Linked DNA regions of Homo sapiens: region 2 is linked to region 1. Evidence: promoter capture Hi-C in human tissues and cell types (Jung and others, 2019). All regions are on one chromosome and are shown on one strand. The core of a region is centred on a gene start or on the middle of the fragment in contact, and the rest is flanking DNA. Distances in the headings are between cores, read along the strand shown.

Evidence for each region. The method cuts DNA at HindIII sites, captures the fragments that hold promoters and counts their contacts. A contact is called where the count stands out against the background at its distance.
Region 2: a contact is called between a fragment that was not itself captured here and the fragment with the promoter of SGSM3 in region 1, in 1 of the 25 tissues and cell types used here (dorsolateral prefrontal cortex).

The regions. Positions count from the first base shown.
Region 1 is chr22:40,368,712-40,373,176 of GRCh38, reverse strand. It overlaps SGSM3 (small G protein signaling modulator 3), which reads right to left and starts at 2,583. Exons shown (of 22, transcript NM_015705.6): 1 at 2,489-2,583. It overlaps ADSL (adenylosuccinate lyase), which reads right to left. Exons shown (of 13, transcript NM_000026.4): 13 at 3,810-4,465. RefSeq lists silencers at 2,198-2,367, 2,428-2,537 and an enhancer at 2,688-2,897. The HindIII fragment of the contact is 4,461 bases long and covers 1-4,090 here.
Region 2 is chr22:39,744,677-39,749,141 of GRCh38, reverse strand. The region is part of intron 6 of ENTHD1 (ENTH domain containing 1); the gene reads left to right. Among named protein-coding and RNA genes, the nearest start is that of ENTHD1, 150 kb to the left of the region's middle. The HindIII fragment of the contact is 5,554 bases long and covers 1-4,465 here.

The DNA.
Region 1 (4,465 bases), core at 1,334-3,833:
TGTCACTTACAGTGACCTGTGACAACTAGTGTCTGGTAAGCAGAAGGCATCCAATAAGTGGTTTCAATGATTATTACTACAGGTAGGAGTGGTGTTCTAACCCCTCCCACATATCTTGTGCTCCAGTCTAGATTCCCTAAGTCTGTGTATAATATGTGATGGCAAAGAAACAGGATCTTTTTTTCTTCTGTAACACTCATTGTGCTATTCCCATTTCCTTGTGACAGTCTGCATGAGCTCATGAATGGCTGCTGTGGAAAATTACTGACGTCACCAGCTGAATAACAGGCTATCTGGAGAGTAAGCAGATGAAACTGATGTTAAATTATCAAATGTACAAGATTTTGGGCTCCTGCCAAAACCTTCATTGAGAACTAAGAAGAGAAAAACTGAAAACACACAGAGCTTTTTTTAAGCTTCTGAGCCAGCAGGCTGTTCCTACATCCACTCCAGGCATAGAAAGATGGCTGTAAAATAAAAGAGATGATTATCTCCTCCCTTCCCTTCTCAATATTTCACCCTAATGTCGGGTTCATTTCTGTGAGGTTCTACCCGAGTTCACTTTTCTATCAACCTGACATGTTTCCAAATTCACGAGGTATGCGTTTTTATATTGAAGCAATTGTTTGTTTACAGCCTTTTAATGTTCTGGTCATGGGTTATGTTAACCTATTACCCATATCTGATCAATAGACACCTCACCCTCTCCCCTCCCAGACCACACACCTCCACGCTTAAAAAGGGACAGGGAGGGCCAGGCACGGTGGCTCACGCCTGTAATCCCAGCACTTTGGGAGGCCGAGGCGGGCAGATCACGAGGTCAGGAGATCGAGACCATCTGGCTAACACGGTGAAACCCCGTCTCTACTAAAAATACAAAAAATTATCCGGGTGTGGTGGCGGGCACCTATAGTCCCAGCTACTCGGGAGGCTGAGGCAGGAGAATGGCGTGAACCCGGGAGGCAGAGCTTGCAGTGAGCCGAGATCGCGCCACTGCACTCCAGCCTGGGCAACAGAGCGAGACTCCGTCTCAAAAAAAAAAAAAAAAAAAAAAGGGGGGGGGGACAGGGAGAAGAACTAAAGCTCAGGCTACTATGATAATTAGGGATGAAAAAGCTACATTCACTTAGGATTATCAAAAGCCAGGAAAGATATCTATAGAATTACAAATTAATCGGGCCTGGCGCAGTGGCTCACGCCTGTAATCCCAGCACTTTGGGAGGCCCGAGACGGGCGGATCACCTGTGGTCAGGAGTTCGAGACCAGCCTGGCCAACATGGCGAAAAACCCCGTCTCTATTAAAAATACACAAATTAGCCGGGCGTGGTGGCGGGCGCCTGTAATCCCAGCTACTCGGTAGGCTGAGGCAGGAGAATCACTTGAATCCGGGAGGCGGAGCTTGCAGTGAGCCGAGATCATGTCATTGCACTCCAGCCCGGGCAAGAGCGAAACTCCCGTCTTAAAAAAAAAATAGAAAAGAAAAGAAAAGAAGAATTACAAATTAATCACCAAGAACAGAAATAGTGTAAAAACAAAGATGTAATTCAACTGTTTAGAGTGCAGAGATAATTGGAACTAAAAGAGCAAGAAAAGCGGGAAACATATGTACCTATAAACCTAATCACAAACCTGTCACAAAAACTACGAGTAAACGAGTCGAAGTTGAAAATGAGTTTTTGTGAATCAGAGTCTGATTTGACTTGAATTTACTAAGAAAGAATAAGAAAGGTGTAGAACATTCCAGGACATCTCTATCCCACCGCAAAACAAAAAAGAGCCATCAACCCACCACAAACGTGCAGCGTGAGACTGGAAGATACACTAGTCACCCAGTCACTGAAAACAACCTTTGAAACATCTTTATTTTTCTTTCCAAATAAAAAAGAGCCTAGGTCAGTAAACTAAGTATGAGAATAATTTTCAAAATTCCAGTCCTAACCACACCGGATGATTCTGGCTAACGTATGCCTCAGTTTCCCCCGTGCTAAAATGCAAACACACCGGTGTTCCGAGTCTCGGGCCTGGATCCGAGCCCGGGTTCTGCACCTGGATCTGAATCTTAAAGGGAAAACCGCAAGTTAAACCTGAGGAGGAGTCTGCAGCTGTCCCGGTGCCAGAGCCAGCCAGGCTCTTTTTAGAAAGCCCCCCGCCTCAGGCGCGGTTTTCGTAAAACCGCTCCCGGCTGCCAGCGCGGTGGATTCCGGCTGGCGCCCCGAACACCTGAGGTGGCCTCGGCCGTCTAGGGGCGGCCGCACCGGAGGACGCAGCCGACCTCCCCGCCCCGCCGCGTCCCCGGCCCCCATTCCAACGGCGACGCGAGCAAGGTCGGCCCGGCGGCTCTCCGGCCCGAGGCGGTGCTTCTCTCGTGGGCGCCTTCGGCCCATACGACCCTCGGTCGGACAGTCCGACCACAGCCGCCCCGCAGCCCCCGCCTGAGGGGAACTTGTAGGCGCCGGTGGGTCTCCGCTGACTCCCGCCCCGCACTCACCTGCCCCACGGGCCACCTCAGCGCCAATCCGGGTCGGGTTAGCAGCTTCCCCACTCGCACCCAGTCAGCGCTCAGCGGCGCCTAAGCGCACGCGTGGCGGGGCGTGGCATGGGCGGCCGCGGGTCATGCTGGGGGCTGTAGTCGTTCCCGCCCACTAGGCGGGGCGCGTCCAGGGGCTTTGCGCCCCCATCCCAAGGCCAGCATGCATAGCGATGATTTCTTCGTCTGCACCGCAGCCTGAGAAGCTTGGGACAGTATGGTGTGGACCAGCAGTCAGGGTGGTGGGAGATAGACGCTGCAAATAACTTGCTAATTTTTTTTTTTTTTTTTTTTTGAGATGGAGTCTCGCTCTGTCACCCAGGCTGAAGTGCAGTGGCGTGATCTCGGCTCACTGCAACCTCCACCTCCCAGGTTCAATCAGTTCTCTGCCTCAGCCTCCCGAGTAGCTGGGATTACAGGCGCCCGCCACCACGCCCAGCTAATTTTTTTGTATTTTTAGTACAGTATTTTTAGTAGAGACGGGGTTTCACCATGTTGGCCAGGCTGGTCTCGAACTCCTGACCTCAGATGATCTGCCCGCTTCAGCCTCCCAAAGTGCTGGGATTACAGGCGTGAGCCACCGCGCCAGGCCGGAAAACGAAATTTTCTGAGTACCTTCTGTGTCAGATTCTATGCTGTGCAATTCCCATCTCACCAACCCTCACATCCACCTAGGCTTCATATCACCTTTCTAGGGACTCCTAACCCTCGTGCTTCCACTAAAGCTGTGTTTACAAACATCAGGCTCTCCTGGTTCTTAAATGAAACTGAGCATCAGCCAGGGAAAGAGGGCATTAAGTGTCCAGGTGTCTGACTTCAGCTGAGCAGACATTTCATCAGTTGCCCCAAGTTCTGCCCAGAACCTGACATCTGGGTAGTTCTGATGCTGGAGTCCGTGTGAATTTAAACCAATCTTAAAGAAAATACAACAGCCTGGGTTAACAGAGTGAGACCCTGTCTCTACAAAAAACAACAAAAAATGAACCACGTGTGGTTGTGTGTGCCATAGTCCCAGCTACTCAAGAGGCTGAGGTGAGAGGATCGCTTGAGCCCAGGAAATCAAGGCTGCAGTGAACTGTGGTCATGCCACTGCACTCCAGCTTGGGCGACAGAGCAAGATCTTGTCTATATATATATATAAAAGATAGATATATGAATGTATATTATATATAATATATATGAATGTATATTATATATAATATATATGAATGTATATTTTATATATATACATAAATGTACATTTAATATATATATGTTTTCCAGTGAACACGCAGACCACCCATCAAATTAAAATGTTACATGGGAAAATCAGATTACAAAGTTGCATACAAGTATGTAAATACAAAAATAAAGGAGAATGGAAAAGGAAAGAAGACAAGAGATGCACCAACAAATCCACCCATTCAAATAGTCCAGGAAGAAACCAGGTCAAATCGCCAATCACTGGAGATCATTAGTCTAACAGAATTGTTAGGACAGGAACAAGACTGTTATTTCCTTATTTTCTATGAGGAAATGTATTAACTAAAATCCATGGTATCCTATATCCCCAGTATCTGTTATGTAATATAAATTCTCACATTACAGATAAACTGATAGTAGTTGCTGCCTCCAAGTTGCCCATAGCAGAGAAGGAAGTAGACAGAATATCTGGTCAGAGTCCCATGACTTAATTTCCTTGTGTCAGACTTAGTATCCTTTCAAGATTTTTTCTGTTTTGTTTTTTCAGATGGAGTCTCGCTCCGTTGCCCAGGCTGGAGTACAGTGGCATGATCTTGGCTCACTGCAACTTCTGCCTCCCAGGTTCAAGCAATTCTCCTGTCTCAGCCTCCCAAGTAGCTGGGACTATAGGCGCCTGCCACCACGCCCGGTTGATTGTATTTTTAGTAGAGACGGAGTTTCACCTTGTCGGTCAAGCTGGTCTCGAACTCCTGACCT
Region 2 (4,465 bases), core at 1,447-3,946, 620 kb after region 1:
AAAGTAAATTGGTATGCGGCAATTATAGATGAAGTGGCTTTTTATAAGCAAAAGCATCATGTAGCCTATGACTCAAAGCTGCAAAACTGTAAACAATGATAAGCGATTTCGTCAGCAGTTGTAGTCATAAGGCAAAAGAAAGGTGGCTAAATAGTAGAAAGCAGTGGGTCCCAGACTTTAGCATACCTCAGAAACACCTGGCAGCTTGTTACAACTTAGTTTTCTGGGCCCAACCCCCAAGTTTCTGATTTAGTAGATCTGGGACCCAAGAAATTCATTACTGACAAATTCCCAGGTGATGCTACTGCAGTCACATTTTGAGAACCACTGGCATCAATTTAAATACCAGGTTTTTTAGTCACAGCATATATATGTGACTAACCTAACTGCGTATCTTTAAATATATATGATAACATGGGGGCCAGGCTCAGTGGCTCACACCTGTAATCCCAGCACTTTGGGAGGCCTAGGCAGGCAGATCACGAGGTCAGGAGATTGAGACCATCCTGGTTAACACAGTGAAACCCCGTCTCTACTAAAAACACAAAAAAAAAATAGCCGGGCGTGGTGACGGGCACCTGCAATTCCAGCTACTCGTCAGGTGGAGGCAGAAGAATGGTGTGAACCTGGAGGCAGAGCTTGCAGTGAGCCAAGATCGCGCCACTGCACTCCAGCCTGGGCAACAGAGCGAGACTCCGTCTCAAAAAAAAAAAAGAAAAGAAAATGATATTAATATTTGACTCAAATATTATTTCCGTCTTGGCCTACTTAAAATGTTTCTTATTAAGTTATTCTTTCTGACTAGAAGGAACCCAAATTCTATTTCTAGAGTCTTTTCTTAGTACTTTAACAGATATGTTTTGAGTCCTAGAATCTTTTTTTTTTTTTTTTTGGAGACAGGGTCTCACCCTTTTGCCCAGGTTGGAGCGCCCTGGCATGACCACGGCTCACTGCAGCCTCAAACTCCCAGGCTCAGGTGGTCCTCCCACTTTAGTCTCCCAAGTAGGTGGGACCACAGGTACACACCACCATGCCCAACTAATTTTTGTACTTCTTGTAGAGAAGGGGTTTCGCCATGTTGCTCAGGCTGTTCTCAAATTCCTGGGCCCAAGCTATCCTCCCACCTCGACCTCCCAAAGGGCTGGGATTACAGGTGTGAGCCACCATGCCCAGCCGGGTCCTAGAATCTCATCAAGAATAGATAAGTTCTGTAAAGTGATGCACCGATCTTGCCTCAAATATCCCTACCAAATGGTTATTCAGGCTGTGCATGAGCTCTGAGCATCACTCACCATTATTATTTTCGTGTGTGAAGAACCATGACAATGAGAAAGTTTTTTTTTTAATGAAGTGGGCTAAAATCTGTTTTCTGTAAGTTCTACCTGTTGATCCCAGTTCTAGCTCCTGCAAACTAAGAGTAATGGAAGGTATTATTATTAAGGTTTTCTGATTGTCTTCAAATAATTAGATATAGCCTCTCATCCTTCTACCATCTCTTTTCGGGTAAAGATTAGCATATCCATCAACCATTTATTATAGATAAGATGTCAAGTCCCCTCACTGTCCTGGTTACCTGCCTTCTAAATTTTATACTCAAAATTTAACATAATTCTATAATACAGTAAAAATAATTCTAATGTAATAGAATTGTGTAGAAGTATAGAATTGTGATTAAGATCATATTCTATGACATCAGAGAAACTTGAATTTGAATCCCATCTTTCCCCTTTTCTAGCCTTGTGGTCTTGGGAAAGATTTTTAGCCTCTTTCAGATTCCCTTGCCTCATATTTGAAACGGGGTTATAAAACCTACTCCATCTGGTGCTAAACAAAGAGAATTTAAAAACAACTATTTGAGGGGGCACAGTGGCTCACAGAGGTAATCCCAGCTTCGGGAGGCTGAGGAGTGAGGATCACTTGAGGCCAGGAGTTTGAGACCAGCCTTGCCAATGTAGCAAGAGCCCTTCTCTACAAAAAATTCAAGAAAAGAGCCAGGCATTGGTGGCCCACACCTGTAGTCTCAGCTACTAGGAAGGCTGAGGCGGGAGGATCGCTTGAGCCCAGGTTGAGGCTGCAGTGAGTCATGACTGCACCACTGCACTCCAGTCTGGGTGACAGAGCAAGGTCCTGTTTCTAAAAAAAAGAAAAAACAAAACAAAACAGGCATTTGAAAAGTGGTTAAGTCCTTAGACAGGTGAACAATTAACCATGAATACCCACCTACCTCTGCAACCCATGGCAGAGTCTGAAGATTTGTTTTCTGGAGAGGGCAGATGAAAGGTCTCTGAAATGAGGGATGCTAGGTAGAGTTACAAGTGTGGGCACTGTCACCAAAACCACAGGATTATGTGATGATATGTAAACCACATGCTGAATGCTGCAGCCCCCTCCCCCTGCTGGCCTCCCAGCACCCTGGTAGCTAGACCTTTACCCTCTAGGTAGGAGATAGGATAACTTTTCTCCTAGAACCTAACTGGCCTAGAGGAAAGAACTAAAGATACTGATATTAGTGGTTCCCCAACAAATGACTATTCACTGAAGCTCAAAGTTGACAAGTGCCATACACACACTCAACGTTCCTTTCAACTTTTAATCCTCCACACTTAAACATAAGCGGGCAGCAAGGGGTACCAACATCTGAAAAAAGAAAACTTCTAATATAAAACATTGAAACAAAAACAAAGAAAAATAATTTTGAGGAAACATACACTATGAAGGGAAAGGAAAAGTTTTTCAAAGAAGCTTATTATCCTCAAAGAAATAAGAGAATACAGTATGTGAAACAAGAACAAGACATTACAAAAAGAATTTCTGAAAACCAAAAAAAAGAGCTCTTGGAAATTTAAAAATATAATAGCAGAAATATAAGCAATCAATGAGAGGATTGGAAGCTAAAGTTGATAAAATCTACATTGAAGTAAAGCAGAAAGATGGAGGCGGGGAAAATGGGAAAGAAAAGTAAGAAAATTAGAAGACTAGTCCAAGAGATCTAACATCTGACAAGAGGAGGTTTTGAAAGAGACAACAGAGAAAACACAGAGGAGAAAATAAGTGATTAAATCATTTAGAATAATTTTCTGGGGCTGAAGGAAATAGGTCACATGATTGAGTTGACCTCAGTGAGTGAAAATAGTCTCACTTCAGGGTACATCACTGAGAAGTTTCCAAACCCTCTGAAACAAAGAGGAAATTCTGTAATGCTTCAGAGATAAAACAGGTTACATGCAATGAATAAGAATTCGAATGGCTCCAACCCCTGCACAGCAATACTAGAAACAAGAAGACAGTGAAATGTGGCCTTCAAAATTCTGAAAGAAGGATTTCTGACCTAGAATTCTTTAACCAAACGATCATTAAGCCTAAAAGCAGAGTACAGACATTTTCAGACATGCAGGTTCTCAAAACTTTTACTTCTCATGGCTATCGTCATTAACATGCCCACTACCATCTTTCCACCTTTTTAATCCAAAGATAGTCTGTCTCGATTAGCCTGACCTAGATTCCTAACTGTTCTTGGCTTTTCTTGACCATGTGCTGATGAAGTTCCTGCTTTCCTTTTCATGTCCCTGCTGCTGCATCGGCTGAGAATATATTTCATCCCCAAAAAAGTTTTGTGATTGGAATTTTTCCTGAGAAGTGGAGATAGGCCATGGAAAGCTTTGAAGCAAAAAATAGAAGCTGCCTGCCCTGGCCATAGTTTTTACAGGAGGTCCAATTTAGTTTAGAAGGGACATGAATATGTAAAGCAAAATAAAATAATGTAGAAAAATAAGCCATGTGTTCTCATTAGTAAGCATCAATTTCCCTCTTCTGTGACTTACAATGGAATTTTTTTTTAAGTAGTAAGTTCAGAGTTCGTTGCAAAGAGTTTAGAACTGGATTCCACCAATTTGTATCACATATCATAAGTGAATGTAAATAGATATTCCAGGAAGAAGAGAAAAAAGTTCCATGTTTAAGAAAGCTTGGAAGACACTTGAATAAATTACCGAAGATTTCTCAGAACTTTAAATGCACTGATGGACACTGTTAATCTCCTTTTGGGAGGCACAGTATGCAACTGCCCAGGTGTATTGACTATGAAGCCTGTTTTTACAAAACATCTTCTAACATCTGAAGGAACACAGTGTTTCTCAGAAAAGTTTGGGAAATGATTTAGAATAAAGTGTGGGAGATTTAATATGATTTTGCCAGAAAGGAAGTAAAAACTTTCCCAAATATGTAATTTTATGGAAAAAAAGGCTTAGAATGCTTTTTACTTCACTTAGTTTCTTGGTGAGAAAAAAAATGATTATATACGTGTGCTAAAGTATTCTAGATTTCAGATGTGTTGGACTTCAGTCTTGATTATATTTCACTATAGACAGAAAAATATTTATTTCACTAACTTTTGGGTACTTGTAGTTGGTAGTTCATTTTGCCATAATAATCTCTACAGGAAAAAAAATTAAAAAGTTGAAGGAAT